2 separate regions of the Homo sapiens genome follow, and region 2 is linked to region 1. Evidence: promoter capture Hi-C in 16 types of primary human blood cells and fetal thymus (Javierre and others, 2016). All regions are on one chromosome and are shown on one strand. The core of a region is centred on a gene start or on the middle of the fragment in contact, and the rest is flanking DNA. Distances in the headings are between cores, read along the strand shown.

Evidence for each region. The method cuts DNA at HindIII sites, captures the fragments that hold promoters and counts their contacts. A CHiCAGO score of 5 or more calls a contact.
Region 2: a fragment that was not itself captured here is called in contact with the fragment with the promoter of ZNRF2 in region 1 in 9 of 17 cell types (naive CD8 T cells, total B cells, naive CD4 T cells and 6 more); the score reaches 11.2 in naive CD8 T cells.

The regions. Positions count from the first base shown.
Region 1 is chr7:30,283,014-30,286,104 of GRCh38, reverse strand. It overlaps ZNRF2 (zinc and ring finger 2), which reads right to left and starts at 1,508. Exons shown (of 5, transcript NM_147128.4): 1 at 279-1,508. The coding sequence starts at 747. LOC124901607 (a long non-coding RNA gene) reads right to left here. Exons shown (of 3, transcript XR_007060274.1): 3 at 1,851-1,906. It overlaps LOC105375218 (a long non-coding RNA gene), which reads left to right and starts at 20. Exons shown (of 4, transcript NR_136267.1): 1 at 20-45. RefSeq lists silencers at 263-392, 543-622, 703-1,092, 1,173-1,222, 1,233-1,662. The HindIII fragment of the contact is 18,269 bases long and covers 1-3,091 here.
Region 2 is chr7:30,496,875-30,499,965 of GRCh38, reverse strand. GGCT (gamma-glutamylcyclotransferase) reads left to right here. Exons shown (of 4, transcript NM_024051.4): 3 at 1,028-1,163; 4 at 2,731-3,091. The coding sequence ends at 2,874. Among named protein-coding and RNA genes, the nearest start is that of GGCT, 6.4 kb to the left of the region's middle. The HindIII fragment of the contact is 1,330 bases long and covers 850-2,179 here.

The DNA.
Region 1 (3,091 bases), core at 259-2,758:
TCATCTCACTGGAAAATAGACTTTCTCTACTGGGCAGCCGCTGAGGTGAGGGTGCTCAGGATGTTTAAAAACAAAACCACGCGTCTATGCGGTAGCGGCACCGCCGGTGTTAAGCGCCGGGTTTCTTCCAGGATGGAGACCGACGCGGGCTGGTCCGGGAGGCAGCCCCCGGCGCCCCGGCAGAAGGAGAAAAGGAGAAGGGTAAAAATAGCCGGCGGCCACGGCCCACGTGCAGCCGCGGGAGGACCGAGCGCGGGTGCGCGGAGAGGGGTCCGTACCTCCAAACATGTGCGGCGAGAGGTGAGCTGGTAAGGAGCCGATCACCAGGCGCGGCCCGCCGGGGCTCCCGCCCACCGGCCGGTCCCGGCCGCCGCCGCCGTCCTCAGGGCTGCTGTGCACCGAGTCCTGCGAGCCGTACGGGCCGCTGCTGCTGTTCGGGATGCTGAAGGGGGACTGCGCCGCGCGGGCCCCCGACGCCACGCTCCCCACGGCCCCGCCGAGGGAGCGGCTGCGCGGGGCCGCCGGGGCTGCCGGGGCCGCCGCGGCCGCCGCGGCGCCGCCGGAGGCGCTGGGCTGGTGCGCGCTGGGCACCTGAGCCGGGAACCTCCCCGCGGCGGCGGCCCGAGCGCCCCCGCCGCCGCCCGCGGTCCCATTGGCGCCTCCGCTGCTACTGGAAGGTAGATCCGAGCCCGAGTACGCGCGCGTGCGGCCGTTAGCGGCGGCCGGGCCGCTCTGTTTGGCGCCCATGTCCGCCCTGCCCCGGGCCGGGCCCGCGCGCTGCGCCCCGAGAGCCGGGAGGGCGGGAGCGAGCGCGGGAGCTAGAGGGCAGGGCCCAGGCGCCGCGGCCGGCCCAGAGAGGCCCCCGCACGTCCAGGGCCGCCGCCCGGCGTCCAGAGGGGCAGTCGGCGCCCGGCGCGCTCTTCTTGGGGCGGCGGGCGAGGCCGACGGCCTGACGCGGGCGCGGGAGACGAGGAGACGCGGAGAGGAAGGGGTCCCGGCTGCAGGCACCCCTCGCTGGCTCCAGCAGGAAGGGGCGGCTCAAGTGGCCGTGCGGCTGCCGCTGGTTTCGGTTCTGGTGCGCCACGACGGGCCGCTACCGCTCTCTGCTGCCGCGCTCGGCGCCCCCGATCTCGGCACCGCCTCCTCTCGGGCGGCCGCTGCTACCGCCGCCATCCTCCGGCTCCCACGGCGGCTGGCGGCTGAGTGGGAGGCGCCCGCCCAGACTCCGCCGGGGCCACCTTCCCTCCTCCCCCAGCCACCCAGCTGTTATTAACGGAGAAAGAGGAAAAACGGGTGGCGCGCGAGGGGAGAACGAAAAATGGGAGGGAGAGGTGGCGCGCGCTTCCCGGCAACCGTCGCCTCGCTCCCCCTGCGAAGGAGGGGCCGGGCTGGCGGGAGGATCTGGGCCGCGAAGGCGGGGGGTGCGCAGATGGGGAGGAGGTTCCCCGGCCCCGCGCCGGAAGGCCGCGGAGCGGCGCGGCTGCAGGGTGCGCCCGGCCCGTGTGTTTGGGTCGCGCGCGTTGACCCCGCCCCCGCCCCCTCGTGCCGCCAGGCCGATTGGCTCCCGCCGGCCTTGCTCCGCCTCCCCCTTCCGCGACCTGCCTGCCCCTGCTCCGCCTCGCCAAGGTACTGCGGTGTGGTAGGTGCTGCCACTCGTGGACTCGGTGATGGACAGGTCTCTGGCCACGCCCTCCCAGCCAGGGCGCGCCCTTGTCTTCCTCGCGGGGCCTACGCCGATAGGAGGAACGGACACCGGGCGCCAACCAGAAGGCGGCCCCTCCTCCCGCACGTGGCCCGCCGACGCTGTAGGAGCCTGTGTCAGCTGCAGCTTTTCCTGGCAGGGGGCGTGAATGGCTGTGTCCTCTGCCCAGAGCCGTTTGGTTTCGGTGGGTGTTGGTGTTACACACTGATTAAAAAAAAAAACAGAAGCTCAAAAGCCAGCTTGATCTCAGACTTACTCATGAAACACCAACCTGGGAGGAAGCGCAGAGTTGGAAGAACTCGGGATAATCCAGGTTGACCCTCTGTGGTAGGGCAAATACTGTGGTGCCAGGAACGCTGCACCTGACTCACAAAACCTAGAATCTAGGCCCAACACCAAACTAAATTATCTGTAGTGAGCAAATTATTTTACTTTTTTGGACTTTAGGTTTATTTTTGTTTTTGTTTTTGAGACGGAGTCTCGCTCAGTCACCCAGGCTGGAGTGCAATGGTGTGATCTCGGCTCACTGCAACCTCCGCCTCCCGAGTTCGAGCGATTCTCCTGCCTCATCCTCCAGAGTAGCTGGGATTACAGGCACGTGCCACCACGCCTGGCTAATTTTTGTATTTTTAGTAGAGACGGTCTTTCACCATGTTGGCCAGGCTAGTCTTGAACTCCTGTCCTCAAGTGATCCACCTGCCTCGGCCTTCCAAAGTGCTGGGATTACAGGCGTGACGTACCGCACCAGGCCGACTTTAGGTTTCTTACCTGAACTGTTTGTGTTAAATCCTAGGGCACCTGCCTCTTTAAAATCCTATAACTTCTCTAAAATGTAATAAAATTCTCCTCAGTGCCTTCCTCAGTGTTGGTGTGGTCTCTTCACGGCAGAGCAGGGTCTGGATACCCAGGGAACAGCCTGCTCTGAGACTCCCATTATGAAAATGTCTAGTCTCTACTTGAAAATAATAATAGCAAGTGGTGTTTTATAAAACTACAGAAATACTTTGTCATCTTTTCACTATTTGCAATAAGTCATTTATGTAATGATTTTCATCACTCTTAGGGTATGGGAATCAAGTTTTTAAACAAATGGAGAATATATGTATACATATAAAGACGTGTATCTGTGTACACAAACACACATATATACATGGAAAAACAAAGGTACCCAGTGCTTTATATGCAGTATCATGTTAAGATATGGTCATCATTTTGGTTAAGTGCCCTCTCCTTATAGATGTTTCCTGCCACCTCCTCCCCCATCCCAGCATCACAGACTGACTTCAGTGTTCCCACTCAGTGCTGTACAATACCTCCTTCATAGCTCTGATCATGTTATTATTATTATTAGATATCTTGCTTGTCACTACTCAATTGGCTCCATGATAA
Region 2 (3,091 bases), core at 265-2,764, 210 kb before region 1:
CTTGTGAAGGAGAAAGAGCCATCCTCTCTACCTTTGTTCTAGGTGGATATTCTCTTGCTGTCAGAACACCATCCATTTTTGTAGCCCAAAGAACAATGTTTCCATAGTATAAAGTTGAAAAAAAAAACAAACTATATTGAAGCCTCTTTAAAGACAAGATAAATACAGAGAGTTATGTTAGGAGTATAACAAGTAATATTATGTCTCAGGCCTTCTAATTGAAATGCTAAGCTAAGCTTACTTTTTTTTTTTTGTAACGGAGTCTCGCTCTTGTTGCCCAGGCTAGAGTGCAATGGCGTGATCTCGGCTCACCCCAACCTCTGCCTCCCGGGTTCCAGTGATTCTCCCGCCTCAGCCTCCCGAGTAGCTGGGATTACAGGCATGCACCACCATGTCGGACTAATTTTTTGTGTGTTTTTTTTTTAGTAGAGACAAGGTTTCTCCATGTTGGTCAGGCTGGCCTCGAACTCCTGACCTCAGATGATCCACCCACCTCGGCCTCCCAAAGTGCTAGGATTACAGGTGTGAGCCACTGCACCCGGCCTTTTTTTTTTTCTTTTTGAGATGGAGTCTTGCTGTCTCCCAGCCTGGATTGCCACAGTGCAATCTCGGCTCACTGCAACCTCCACCTCCCGGGTTCAAGTGATTCTCTAGCCTCAGCCTATTGAGTAGCTGGGACTATAGGCGCCCACCACCACGCCCGGCTAATTTTTGTATTTTAGTGGAGATGGCGTTTCACCATGTTGGCCAGGCTGGTCTTGAACTCCTGACCTCAAGTGATCCACCTCAGCCTCCCAAAGTGCTGGGATTACAGATGTGAGCCACCGTACCCAGCCTAAATGCTAAGCTTACTTTTGATGTGGTAAATTTATATATTCTCTATCCCAAATACATAGGGAGCAAGTATGTTCAGATGTAGTTAAATGTTTAATCCCATACACCATCTTGACTATTATAAAAAGACCTTACCCAGTGAGCTAAATTGGCTAGGTCAAATGTGGTTAAAATTTGGCTGTTCTGGTTTCAGGCAAGAAGGGGTTAAAAGTGGAATGTATGTTGTAATAGAAGTTAAAGTTGCAACTCAAGAAGGAAAAGAAATAACCTGTCGAAGTTATCTGATGACAAATTACGAAAGTGCTCCCCCATCCCCACAGTATAAAAAGGTAAGCTATTTACAGACTGGTGGTGATTACTTTTTAAATTTCACTGAGAGAAACTAAAGAATATATTGTTTTTAAAAGACTTTAGGCCCAACGTGGTGGCTCATGCCTGTAATGCCACCACTTTGGAAGGCTGGGGCGGGCAGATCACCTGAAGTTAGGAGTTTGAGACCAGCCTAGCCAACGTGGTGAAACCTCATCTCTACTAAAAATACAAAACTAGGAGGCCGTGGTGGCGAGCACCTGTAATCCCAGCTACTTGGAAGGCTGAGGCATAAGAATTGCTTGAACCCAGGAGGTGGAGGTTGCAGTGAGCTGAGATCAGGCCACCACACTCCAGCCTGGGTGATAGTGAGACACTCTCAAAAAAATTTCTAAAAAAGAAATAAAAGGTTTTGTATGTTTTAAATTCCATGTAAACATTTATTTTAATAAAAATGTTTTTAAATATAAAAATGATAGTTATTTACCTAATGTACAGATTCAAAAATATTATGTGTAATGATAGAATTATGTTTTTAAAACTATTTATTAAAAAAATTTTTAGAAATATATGTGAGTCAGAATTCTAGACATGTATTTTCTCCCTTTCTTTTTTTCTTTCTCTCTTTCTTTCTTTCTTTTGCCTGGCAATAAATTTTTGCTTCATTTTTATGATGTAGACATGTATTAAAGTAGGAAAGAATATTTATGAGTGTATTTTAATAGATTTAGTCTCTCTCTCTTTCTCTTTCTATATATATATACATATATGTATATATATGTATATGTGTGTGTGTATCTATATATATATATATATGCTTTTGTAATGTTTTTCTCCCCGTAACACAGTATTTTATGAATACCAAGATTCATTTTTATAGGGGAAAAAAACATACTTTCTACTGCTGAAATGTTTTTCATCCCTAGGTGGAGAAAGAAACGTCACACTGCCTTTCAGAATCAGGGAAATCACCCTTGCAAGCACAAGACAAGAATGTGGGATAGAGACCCCAAAATTCCTGTTCAGAACCTAAGCTTAGCTCTCTGTTGGCAGGCCCAATCAGGTCATGGCACCTGTAATAGGTAATCTGGTTCCTAGGCCTCGTTTGGAATTTTTTAGTATGAAACCTAGAGAAATTAGCCTGGTATAGATTATGAAAGTACCGCTAAACACAGTTGCCATTTATTCCCCCATGTCCAATTCAGAGCAAGGGTAACCTCTGGCGTTGTAACCGAAACTGCTCTCTGTAAACTTTAAATTTTTTTTGAAGAATGGTATTTTTTTTCTTAAAAGGTCATATAAATTTTATATAGATATGTTTGTCTTAATATTAAAATATTTAAAATCATATATTGAGAAAGTTGATATTCCATGAGGATGCTTCATTTGGCTTTGAAAACTCCATACACATTCATGCTCAGTGTGAGAGGAATGATGGTATTCTATTTTATATAATTGTTTATTCTAGAGTTATCTGAAAGCTAATACTTCATACTTTGAGAAGGCAAATAAAGCTGTGGTATGGTACGTTAAATTATATTCCTAACTGAAAGGGTTTTTTTGTCTGTTTGTTTTAACCATTTCCAGATTATTTGCATGGGTGCAAAAGAAAATGGTTTGCCGCTGGAGTATCAAGAGAAGTTAAAAGCAATAGAACCAAATGACTATACAGGAAAGGTCTCAGAAGAAATTGAAGACATCATCAAAAAGGGGGAAACACAAACTCTTTAGAACATAACAGAATATATCTAAGGGTATTCTATGTGCTAATATAAAATATTTTTAACACTTGAGAACAGGGATCTGGGGGATCTCCACGTTTGATCCATTTTCAGCAGTGCTCTGAAGGAGTATCTTACTTGGGTGATTCCTTGTTTTTAGACTATAAAAAGAAACTGGGATAGGAGTTAGACAATTTAAAAGGGGTGTATGAGGGCCTGAAATATGT